2 separate regions of the Homo sapiens genome follow, and region 2 is linked to region 1. The links are contacts of gene promoters, found by promoter capture Hi-C in blood cells and fetal thymus (Javierre and others, 2016). All regions are on one chromosome and are shown on one strand. The core of a region is centred on a gene start or on the middle of the fragment in contact, and the rest is flanking DNA. Distances in the headings are between cores, read along the strand shown. Region 1 holds the start of IP6K1 (inositol hexakisphosphate kinase 1). Region 2 overlaps TRAIP (TRAF interacting protein).

Evidence for each region. Contacts are between HindIII fragments. The CHiCAGO score rates a contact against its expected background, and 5 or more counts as called.
Region 2: a contact is called between a fragment that was not itself captured here and the fragment with the promoter of IP6K1 in region 1, in 2 of 17 cell types (megakaryocytes and endothelial precursors). The highest score is 7.0, in megakaryocytes.

Annotation. Positions count from the first base shown.
Region 1 is chr3:49,784,188-49,790,134 of GRCh38, reverse strand. It overlaps IP6K1 (inositol hexakisphosphate kinase 1), which reads left to right and starts at 3,593. Exons shown (of 6, transcript NM_153273.4): 1 at 3,593-3,781. RefSeq lists silencers at 1,740-1,949, 2,730-2,894, 3,630-3,979 and enhancers at 3,070-3,139, 3,226-3,915. The HindIII fragment of the contact is 18,469 bases long and covers 1-5,947 here.
Region 2 is chr3:49,828,726-49,834,672 of GRCh38, reverse strand. It overlaps TRAIP (TRAF interacting protein), which reads left to right. Exons shown (of 15, transcript NM_005879.3): 11 at 2,605-2,757; 12 at 4,605-4,653; 13 at 4,907-5,056; 14 at 5,165-5,215; 15 at 5,448-5,947. The coding sequence ends at 5,570. Among named protein-coding and RNA genes, the nearest start is that of UBA7, 18 kb to the right of the region's middle. The HindIII fragment of the contact is 6,901 bases long and covers 1-5,945 here.

The sequences.
Region 1 (5,947 bases), core at 2,344-4,843:
AGAGAGAGAGAGAGAGAGAGAGAAAGATAGGGTCTGGCTGTCTGGCTTTGTTGCCCAGGCTGGAGTGCAACGGTGTGATTGTGGCTCACTGTAGCCTTGACCTCCCAGGCTCAATCGATCCTCCTACTCAGAATCCCAAGTAGGTGGGACTACAGGCATGGACCACCATGCCTGGCTAATTTTTAATTTTTTTGTAGAGATGGGATCTCTCTATGTTGACCAGGCTGGTCTTGAATTCCTGGGTCCAAGCCATCCTCCCCCTTCAGCCTCCCAAAGTGCTGGGATTATAGGTGTGAGCCACCGTGCCTAGCTCACTGTTGCTTTTGTTGTTGTTGTTGTTGAGATGTTTCTCTTTTTAATTTTTTTCTTAATTTTTAATTTTTGTGGGTACATAGGTGTATAAATTTGGAGGTACATGAGATGTTTTAATAAGGCATGTAATGGTTAATAATCACCTCATCGAAAATGGGGCATCCATCCCCTAAAGCATTTATCCTTTGTGTTACAAATAATCCAATTATACTCTTTCAGTTATTTTAAACTGTACAATTAAGTTATTATTGACTACAGTCACTCTGTTGTGCTATCAAACACTAGGTCTTATTCATTTTTCTTTTTTTTTGGTACCCATTAACCGTCCCACCTCCCCACCCCTTCCAGACTCTGGTAACTATCCTTCTACTCACTATCTCCATGAATTCAATTGTTTTGTTTAAATCTTTTTCCTTTTTTTTTTTTTTGAGATGTAGTCTTACTTTGTCACCCAGGCTGGAGTACAGTGGCACGATCTTGGCTCACTGCAACCTCCGCCTCTCATGATCAAGCAATTCTCGTGCCTCAGTCTCCTGAGTAGCTGGGACCACAGGTGTGCACCACCATGCCGGCTAATTTTTTTATTTTTTATTTTTAGTAGAGATGGAGTTTTCCTATGTTGGCCAGGCTGGTCTTGAACTCCTGACCTCAGGTGATCCTCCTGCCTCAGCCTCCCAAAGTGCTGGGATTACAGGCATGAGCCTCCGCACCAGCCAATCTCACAATCTCATTCTTTTTAATGGCTGAATAATATTCCATTCTGCATATGTACCATATTTTCTTTTCTTTTTTTTTTTTTTGAGATGGAGTCTCGCTCTGTTGCCCAGGCTGGAGCACAGTGGCGTGATCTCGGCTCACTGCAAGTTCCGCCTTCTGGGTTCACGCCATTCTCCTGCCTCAGCCTCCTGAGTAGCTGGGACTACAGGCGCTTGCCACCACGCCCGGCTAATTTTTTGTATTTTTAGTAGAGATGGGGTTTCACCGTGTTAGCCAGGATGGTCTCCATCTCCTGACCTCATGATCCGCCCGCCTCGGCCTCCCAAAGTGCTGGGATTACAGGCGTGAGCCACCGCACCCGGCCCATATGTACCATATTTTCTTTATCCATTCACCTGTTGATGGACACTTAGGTTGCTTCCAAATCTTGGCTATTGTGAATGGCACTGCAGCAAACATGGAAGTGCAGATATCTTTTTGATATACTGATTTCCTTTCCTTTGGGTACATACCCAGCAGTGGGATTGCTGGATCATGTGGTAGCTGTATTTTTAGTTTTCTGAGGAACCTCCGAACTGTTATCCACAGTAGTTATACCACTGTTGCTTTTTGAGGGTCCCATCAAACTTCAGGGCAATTTGCCAACTGTATGTGGAGGTTTTCTTGGGAAGGATCTGGAGCTTTTGCACTGCGGTGAGGGGTGATGCAGACTTGAGAATCCTGTGGCATGGCTGGTCCTGGAGGATTAGCAGAATCCCCCTTTTGAGGGTTGTTGGCTTTTCTTCCTGATCTGTTTCTTCTGGTTCCTCTGCTCTCACATCTCCCTGTGTTGACCTGAGCTATTGCATGTAGCCAAGTGGCCTGCAGCAATCTGCTGGTGGGCAGGTCTTGCTGGATGCAGTGTTGGCCCACTCTCCATGCCCAACCTGACATCAGGTCTCAGGCTTCTGCCAGCTCTCCAAGAGGACCTTACTGTGGTAAATCCAAGTTATCACAGTCTTTACTCGTCTGTTGAGTCTGTGGGCCTGAACCCCCTCAGGGTACTGGAGAACCTCCCTTTTTTTTTTTTGAGACAGAATTTTGCTCTGTCACCCAGGCTAGAGTGTGGTGGCGTGATCTCAGCTCACTGAACCTCTGCCTCCCAGGTTCAAGTGATCCTCCTGCCTCAACCTCCTGAGTAGCTGGGATTACAGGCACCTGCCATCACGTCCAGCTAATTTTTGTATTTTTAGTAGGGACAGGGTTTCACCATTTTGGCCAGGCTGGTCTCGAACCTCTGACCTCAAGTGATCCACCTTCTTTGGCCTCCCAAAGTGCTGGATTACAGGCATGAGCCACTGCGCCTAGCTAGGAGGACCTCCCCTTCTGAACCAGTTATGGTATCCCAGGGCCAGGAAGAAGCTGAAAGCCTTCTGTGGGAACAAAACAAAGCAAAACAAAAACGCTTCATGGGGCTTCCACCAAAGTTAGTGTTTTAAGGCACGCCTCAGGAACAGCAACTTGGAAGCAGGTTGTTCCAGGAAGTGGTTGTAGGCAGATTTTTCCTGAGTTCTTCCCCTGCTCTGAGGGCTCATTAAATCTTCCTCTGAGAAGCTCCACTTTTATCTTCATTTTACAGATGGGACAACCAAAGCTAAAGAGAGGCTAAGGCTCAAAAGTCAGAGTTAGCTAGTTGGGGCATTTGGGTGTGGGCCCAGGCCACGTAACTTCATCTGTTGTTCTAAGCCTGAAGCCAAGCCCAGAGTTAGGTGTTCTGTATGGGGAGCAAGGTGTGACCATCTTCCTGGGACCATTAGTCTGCTTGGGAGGCCGGTCATGACAGTCCAGGGCAAAAGATGCTGTCACAGGATCTCAAGACAAGATGCTCTAGGGAAGAGAAAAGGGAGTGCCCGCTGTGTGTCAGGACTTGTGCTAGGCTCTAAACCTCAGGCAGGAAAGCATGGGCAATGAGCCAGAGGCTGCTGTGGCAGCACAGACTGCGGTACCTCGAGGCTAGTAAGGGACAAAGCGTGGGAAGCTGGGATAGAGGCTCCTCACACTCTGAAACCAGCAGGAGGAGGTGCGAGACCCAGCACCTCCATTTCTAGAGGTGGCGTGACCTTGGCTCGGCCTCCCCTCTCTGAGCCTCAGTTTCCTCTCCAGAGTGAACTGGGGGCTGCACCCCCCTTCTCCCAGAGTGGGGGACAAAAAAACGAATAGCACACCGCTGAGATTCCCTGTGTGTGCGCAAGTGTATGACAAGACGCCGCCGGTACCGCACGAGGGCCAGGGACGCAGAGAGGCCAAGGGCGCTCCGGCCTCGTAGTAGCCAGCGAAAACTCCGCCGCCAGCCACTCCGGGAACGAAGCGCATGCGCCAACCCATGCCGTCACAGTCACGTGCCCCACGCTTTCGGCAGAGGCCCTGAGAGGCAGACTCTGACTGACACGTGAGCTGACCTGTCAGCAGGAAGCACTTCCCCTGGCGACGAGCAAAAAGACTGTTGATTGGGGATAGCACCCCCTCGGGGGCGGGTTCTTTGCAGTCCTGGTTACTATGACGCCCGGCCCCCGCCCCCTCGGCTAGCCGCCATCTTGTTGTTGATCCGTACCCAGTGGGCAGCGCCGGGAGCTGGACCAAGCGGCCGGTGAGAGGCCGCTGTAGCGGTGCTCAGCCACCTGTGCTGCCTGCCAGGGGGCGGGCCGAAACCTGGAGGCCCGGGGGGCCCAGCTCCCGTAGGGAGCCGTGGGCGCTCGGTGCCCGGGCCGGGCAGGTGAGTGACAGGAGCCGGGCCGATAGACCGGCCTGACGCCCGCGGGGAGGGCGGTGGCGGGCGCGGGGTTGGAGTGGGCGCGTGTGGGGTCGGGGCTCCGGTGGGGCCATCACTGGAACATCGCTCGAGCGTCCTGACCGGCCGCCCGCCGAGCCTCCCAGATGCTGGCACCGAAGCCGGGGGGACAGCCGGTGTGGAGGACGGAGAGCGCCAGTGCCTGAGGGTTGGCCGGCTAGTAGCGGGAAACCAGCTTCTCTGACCGAAGCTCTGGACTCCGCTGATCCGGAGCGCTAAAGTGTGTCCGGTGCCACCCTGATGCTCTCCTGGGAGTTATGTTGCTCCTGGCTGAGAAATAGACTTACCTCTTTCTTAGATAGCGTTCCTGCGAGTGATTTTCAGGACGCTGGATGCTAAGACTAGACGAAGCAAGCCAAAGCCCCCGCGAGCCAGGCAGGCCGGTGTCACGGCCCTATGATTATGGCAAGGGGGACCCTCTGCCTGGCTGCTGCTTCCTGAGACCCGTTCGGAACCTCACGTGTACCTCGAAGCTCACCGTTTTCCTCGCAAAGAACCTGGTTAAATGTCCATAATGGCTGAGTTTTATTTTGGAACATAATTTCTTTGGTTCTTCACCACCACTTTTTGGAGAGTGGTAATGTCTTCCTCTTTTTGCTTTAGGAGAAAGTGAGTATTATGGTGATGACTTGATTTTATCTCCTAAAGGGATGCTCGCCATAGGAGACAAAGGAAACGTAGGAGTGTCTTAGAATCGGAAAAAGAAACTTGTTTTTGTTGTGGATGATATGGAACTGGCAAATTAACTGTTTTTTTTCTTTTTTTTCTTTTGAGACAGAGTCTCTCGCTCTGTTGCCCAGGCCGGAGTGCAGTGGCGCGATCTCGGCTCACCACAGCCTCCACCTCCCGGGTTCAAGCGATTATCCTGCCTCAGCCTCCCGAGTAGGTAGGACTACAGACACGCGCCACCATGCCCGGCTAATTTTTGTATTTTTAATAGAGACGGGGTTTCACCATGTTGGCCAGGCTGGTCTCGAACTCCTGACCTCGTGATCCACCCCCCTTGGCCTCCCAAAGTGCTGGGGTTACAAGTGTGAGCCACTATGCCCGGCGCAAATTAACTTTTAACAGTACTAAAATTATCTTGCTCAGTGAAAACACCTTCAAGCCCCTTTCCTGTGAATTTGGGCAAGTTGGAGATCCTCAGTAGAGTGTGCAGGTCTAGGAAGAGTTCTCATTGCTCCAAAACACATTTCTCTTGACCTGTGGCCTCTTTGGTTCTTTGTACAGTCTTCTTGTATGTGGTCATAGAATATGCCTGCATGAGATGACTAAGAAGTCAAGCGACAATACTTTGTGCACTTTTTGTTTTGTTTTGTTTTGTTTTGTTTTTTTGAGATGGAGTCTTGCTCCGTTGCCAGGCTGGAGTACAGTGGTGCCATCTCGGCTCACTGCAACCTCTGACTCCCTGGTTCAAGCAATTTTCCTGCCTCAGCCTCCCGAGTAGCTGGGACTACAGGCACGTGCCACCACACCTGGCTAATTTTTGTATTTTTAGTAGAGACGGGGTTTCACTATGTTGGCCAGACTGGTCTCGAACTCCTGACCTCATGATCAACCCGCCTCCGCCTCCCAAATTGTTGGGATTACAGGCATGAGCCACCGCGCCAAGCCTACTTTTTTTTTTTTTTTCTGAGACGAAGTCTCGTTCTCTCACCCAGGCTGGAGTGCAATGGCACAATCTCAGCTGACTGCAACCTCTGCCTCCTGGGTTCAAGCAAGTCTCCTGCCCCAGCCTCCCAAGTAGCTGGGATTACAGGTGCGTGCCACCATGCCCGGCTAATTTCTGTATTTTTAGTAGAGACCTGGTTTCACCATGTTGTTCAGGCTGATCTCGAACTCCTGACCTCCTGATCCGCCTGCCTTGGCCTCCCAAAGTGCTGGGATTACAGGCGTGAGCCACTGTGCCTGGTCACGCGCCTAGCCTACTTTGTGCACTTCTATCAGGATCTTGTCACCTCTGAATGTATAATTTTGAAAGAGGCCAGGTGCGGTAGCTCATGTCTGTAATCCCAGCACTTTGGGAGGCTGAGGCGGGCGGATCACCTGAGGTCAGTAGTTAAGAGATTAGCCTATCCAAAATGGCAAAAT
Region 2 (5,947 bases), core at 1,246-3,745, 46 kb before region 1:
GAACCCAGGATGCAGAAGGCTTTACTGTTGGGTCCAATAATATTGGCTGCCCTAGGTCATTGTACATAGTTTGTTTAGTGTCTTTGAGAAAAGCTCTTCTATTTATTGGCCCAGGGCAGCAGCCTAACTGCCTAGTGTTCTACCAATGCAGATTAGGATGGGGTGGAGCCAAGCTCACAATTTCATCAGTGTTCCAGTTTTCAGGCCTGTTTAATGCTTTTGCAAGGCCCTCCCTTTCCTTCATGGACCCCCTCCTTGTGGGTTCTGGCTGCTGTGTCAGTCTCTTGTCCCCTGGCCATGCTTTGTCTCCCAGAATTTTTTGGAAATCTCTGGGGGCTGATGGTGGTTGCCCCTTCTACTTGTTGCAGTAGGATTACCCTTCATACCTGTCATTTTAGGGAGGCATCAGCATGTAGCCACCACCCCCAACTACAGAGTCAATGTTAGGAAGATCTCTCTCATGGGCCCCAAGGGCCCCTGAACTCCAGGCTAGAGACAGCCAGGGAGACCTTTCCTTAGGGTAGGGTAAGGCCGCCAGGAGCCATGAGTTCATGGAGGAGATGTTGACTAATCCCATGCCACGCAGGCAATGGGCTGCTCAAGGCCTTAGCTCTGTTCTGGAAAGGGGAGCTTTGAGTGTCTTGCCTGGCTCCCTGAGGCCTCTGGCATGAAGCCCTGTAACTTGACCATGGGTGGGTGTCCCAAGGGTGATAGTGTCACTCAGGAGGGCCTCAAGCCAGCCTCAACCAGTGAGGGAAGGACTACTAAGCCCTAGGTTCTTTCTCCTTGTAGGACAAACAGAAAGTGGGAAGGAAAGAAAGTGGACCCCTGGCAGAAAGGGAAATAGGCTTCAAGCTCATGAAGGAAGAAGAATATAGAAACAGTCTAAGACAAGGCCGGGCGCGGTGGCTCATGCCTGTAATACCAGCACTTTGGGAGGCCGAGGTGGGCAGATCACGAGGTCAGGAGAGCGAGACCATCCTGGCTAACACGGTGTAACCCCATCTCTACTAAAAATACAAAAAATTAGCTGGGCGTGGTGGCGGGCGCCTGTAGCCCCAGCTACTCAGGAGGCTGAGGCAGGAGAATGGCTTGAACCCGGAAGGCGGAGCTTGCAGTGAGCCGAGATCGCACCACTGCACTCCAGCCTGGGTGACAGAGCAAGATTCCGTCTCAAAAAAAAAAAAAAGAAACAGTCTAAGAGAGGAAGAAATGTGTCCATATGATCCAGATGTGGATATGGGGAGTGAGGGAGGCACCGTGAGAACCTCCTGAGTCTTGAGTTTAGTGTTGTGGATGACCAGGAGGTGCAAGTGAATAAGCCTGGCTTGCCTTGAGCTTGGGCACCACTAGGCAACGCCTTAGGGGATGGCTGGGAGTAGAAAGTCCTGCCTTGAGCCACCTGGAGGGTAAAATTTACAGGACCCAGCGAGATCCTGCCTTCCTCTTGAGTTTACCTTTCCTAACCTGAGCCTCAACTTGCTGGGGTTGGTAAATGGTGGCAGAATATGGATACTGCAAAAAAGTTGGCATGAGTGGTCCTGGCTGCTGTGGTTCCCAGAGGAGGAAGCAAAGCAGCCAGCCTAGAGTTGGTTTGAGGTGGGTTTGTGCAGTCTTCATTTTAACTTGCAGGCGGGGACAGAGGTAGAGCTTCTAGGGTCCTGGACAGGGAAAGGAAGAAATAGTCCAGGCTGCCTGGATTGCTTAGCCACCCAAATCAATGCAGGTAGGCTTCCTCCCTCTGATGTGTACACCCCAGTGGAAGTGGGATTGTGGTGCAGCTCTGAAAAGTTCCTGAGGAAGGAAAGAGAGAAGGCATCTTTGGAGCTACCCTTGCCATTCCCCAGGGTTCTCCTTGTATGACAGGAGGTGGGGAGCCCTGCCAGGTCTGGGTGGGCTGGAAGAATCCTGTCGGCTGTAGTTTTAATAGAATAAAACTTCACTCCCCACCCCCCACCCCCCCCCCCCCCCCGTGTTATAAAAGTAAAAACACACTCATTGAGAATTTGGAAAATAGGGAGTTATCATAGAGGTACTTATGGTTGACATGTGGAATATTTCCTTCTCCTTTTTCTGCATGTGGGAGTGGTGGGGGGGTGCCAAATCATGTAATTGCACTATACATGGAGTTTTGTGTGCTTTTTAAATTAAATTAAATTTAAACTTTTTTTTTTTTTTTTCCTGAGACGGAGTCTTGCTCTGTCGCCCAGGCTGGAGTGCAGTGGCGCGATCTCGGCTCACCGCAAGCTCTGCCTCCCGAGTTCAAGCAATTCTCCTGCCTCAGCCTCCCGAGTAGCTGGGACTACAGACACAAGCCACCACACCCAGCTAATTTTTGTATTTTTAGTAGGATGGGGTTTCACCATGTTAGCCCGGGTGGTCTTGATCTCTTGACCGCTTGATCCACCCGCCTTGGCCTCCCAAAGTGCTGGGATTACAGGCGTGAGCCACTGTGCCTGGCCGAGAGTAGGGCTCTCTTGAGGGGTGGCCTTGAGTCAGGAGTGGGCTCCAGGTCCCTGGAGCTGAGTTATCTCTGATGCTTCAGGAGCTGTTGTCCTGGGTTACCACTGTGGCCCCAAGTAACCAGGTCATCTCTGCCTTCAGCCCAGCCCCTGTGGAGGTGAATCTGAAGCTCCGCCGGCCATCCTTCCGTGATGATATTGATCTCAATGCTACCTTTGATGTGGATACTCCCCCAGCCCGGCCCTCCAGCTCCCAGCATGGTTACTACGAAAAACTTTGCCTAGAGAAGTCACAGTGAGTGATAGTCGCTGGCACTGTCCATGGGCTGGTAGGGGGATAGCTAAGACAGCTCTGCAGGCCCTGTGCTGTTAGCTCTGAGTGGCTGATGGGGCAGTGAGGGTTGCCTAGGCTTGGCCATGGCTTTGGTTCCAGCTACCTCTTGTTCCCTCACCTGAGCACTCAATCTGTGCAAACCCCTTCTCTTTTCTCATTATTCCTCACCATCACCTTTCAAGGCAAACGTATTGGAATGCAAGTTAGAGAGAATGCAGTGATGCCAGAAGGGGTGGGTCTGGGCTGGAGAGGGTGCTCCCAATACCTTGAAGGCCTGCCCACCAGAGTCCTGAGCGAGGGACTCTGAACTTCCTCTTCTATGTTTGCCTCTGAGGCTCATGCCTGAGGGAGGATCATCTCAAACCACAGAGCCCAAGGCCTTACCACCCAAGGGGGTGACCCACAGGGGCAAGCATGAGAAGCTGTCTGGAATTCCAGTGGGGCAGGTGGAACCTGCTCTGGGGTACGGTGGGACCAGAAAAAGGGAGGCTGTCTCCTTGGCCAGCTTTGCCAAGTGTAATTCACTGTGGAGACAAGGACTATACTCATTCATACAGGTACTGTTCAGGTGAGGCTGGTCAAGGGCTGGGCAGGTTTCCTCTTTTTCAAAGACTTTGTACAGAGAGAAAGAAGAGAAAGAGAAAGAAACTGAGATGCTAGACAGTGGAGGTGGAAGGGAGCAAGAGGGCAAGCCAGCTGGGCTGTCCTACCTCCCAAACCTCAGGGGGCATGGGCACCCCTGTTGTAGAGGGCGAGGCCTGGTAGCAATGAGAAACAAACCTAGGACCCGTGGGCTGTAGTCCTCAGGGATCCTGTCAGTGTCTGCTGTGTACTCTGGCTTCCTCCCATTGCCCTTCTTCCGCTGTAAAGGTTGAAGGTGGACACCTGGGGTCTTCAGGCTGCCAGGCCTTTCAGAGACATTTCCACCACCTTCATGGCCTGTGGAGGTAGTGAAGGAGGTAGTGAAGTTCTGAGTCCCTAACTCAGCTCGTCCTTCCTGGAGCCTTGGTTGTCATGTAGCCTTACCACAGGCCGTTAGGGCAGGAGCAGAGGAGTCAGTCATCAGGCCCTGATCCCACTCTTGTCCTTATGGCTTGAGAAGCCACAGGGCCAGCCTTAGATCACCATCTTCTCACCCACCAGGGAAAATGCCAGGAGAGGGTATCCAGCTGCTGGGTTCCCCAGGAATTGGATGGAAATACAGTTTCTGGCTCTGGGGCTGGGATTGGGAGACCAGGGCCTGGGGCCATGCGCTATTCTGCCCCAGGCCCTTCTTAGACACACTCTCTAGGGAGATGGCTTGGCCCTGTGTTCTGAGAGGATTTTGTGGGCTACTTTACTGAAAGGCTAACTTACTGAGGCTCTCGTGGAGGTAGTGTCCCCTCTCTGGGAAGACAGGACTAGGCCTGAGCTCATTAAATTTCTTTTGCTCGTATCAGGGCATGACTGGCTTTCCTCCCGTGGGTGGTGAGTTGATTGGGCTCTTCAGCCCCATATAGAGCCTGGGACATGGTGAGGTGCCCGAGGACTTGAGGAGCGTTGGAATTTGGCCTTGAGTGGAAGCCACAGGATTGGGACATGGTCCAGTCATCCCCAGTCATCCCTGTCTCTGCCACCCTACTGGCTGTGGCTGTCCAGCTGTTAACAGACCTGCACTTGGGGTGGGATCACTGAGGTGCCTTGCCCAGAATGCAGGCATGGCAGCAGCAGTGCCACATGGTAACTCCCCAAGGGGCGTGTGCTGAGCCTGGTTCACCTGCCCCCATGTCTTGCTTACCTACCCCTTGCCTTCTCTCTCATTCTTGTAGCTCCCCAATTCAGGATGTCCCCAAGAAGATATGCAAAGGCCCCAGGAAGGTAAGAGCTTTCTAGAAGAAGCACAGTCTAACCTTTGGCAGGACTGGACTTTTGGGAGGGCACGGTCTTGCCAGAGCCTTGTCACTCCTGGTCCAGGACTGAGGTACTTCGGAGCCACCCTTGGGATTCTACTCATTATCCCTCCTGCCTCCTAGTGAGGCATCAGAGATCCTGATCTTGTTCCACCACCACTACCCTCCCTCCTTTGCTGACATCCAGCTCATCAAGTCTGGCCCTGGGGTCTTCCCTGCAGGAGTCCCAGCTCTCACTGGGTGGCCAGAGCTGTGCAGGAGAGCCAGATGAGGAACTGGTTGGTGCCTTCCCTATTTTTGTCCGGAATGCCATCCTAGGCCAGAAACAGCCCAAGAGGCCCAGGTCAGAGTCCTCTTGCAGCAAAGATGTGGTGAGTGTGGCTTCCCACAGTGGCAGGAGCCAGCCCTCTTGGGTAGAAATGGGTGGCCAGCCCCCCAGCCCATTAGCCTGGCCCACTCATCTCTTCCTTCCACCCTAGGTAAGGACAGGCTTCGATGGGCTCGGTGGCCGGACAAAATTCATCCAGCCTGTATCCTTTTCCTGTGATGTTGAGCTGAGCTGAACTGTGGAGCCCATACTATGCCTCACCTATACCCCCAGCCTGCCAGTGCCAACAGCCTCAGGTGTGCAGTGCTGGGCCTCATTCTGTGTATCAGCGCCGCCCACCCCCGGCTCTGAGCCTTTCTTGCCCTGCATTGCAGTCCTTTCTCGCCCTGCATTGCAGTCCTTTCTCCATGCCTCTTCCTTGACAGCTCCTCCAGACTGACACAGTCATGATCCGCCCATTGCCTGTTAAGCCCAAGACCAAGGTTAAGCAGAGGGTGAGGGTGAAGACAGTGCCTTCTCTCTTCCAGGCCAAGCTGGACACCTTCCTGTGGTCGTGAGAACAGTGAGTCTGACCAATGGCCAGACACATGCCTGCAACTTGTAGGTCAAGGACTGTCCAGGCAGGGGTTTTGTGGACAGAGCCCCACTTTCGGGACCAGCCTGAGGTGTAAGGGCAGACAAACAGGTGAGGGTGAGTGTGGCACCCAGAGACTGCTCTTCCTGCCCTCACCCTGCCCCACTCCTACGACTGGGAGCTGACATGACCAGCCCACTGATCCTGTCAGCAGGTCCTGCTCCTGTTGCCAGGCTCCTGTTTATAGCCATGATCAGATGTGGTCAGACTCTTTCTGGGCCTGGAGACCACGGTCACTTGTTGACTGTCTCTGTGGACCAGAGTGCTTGAGGCATCTCAGGCAGCCTCAGCCCAAGCTTC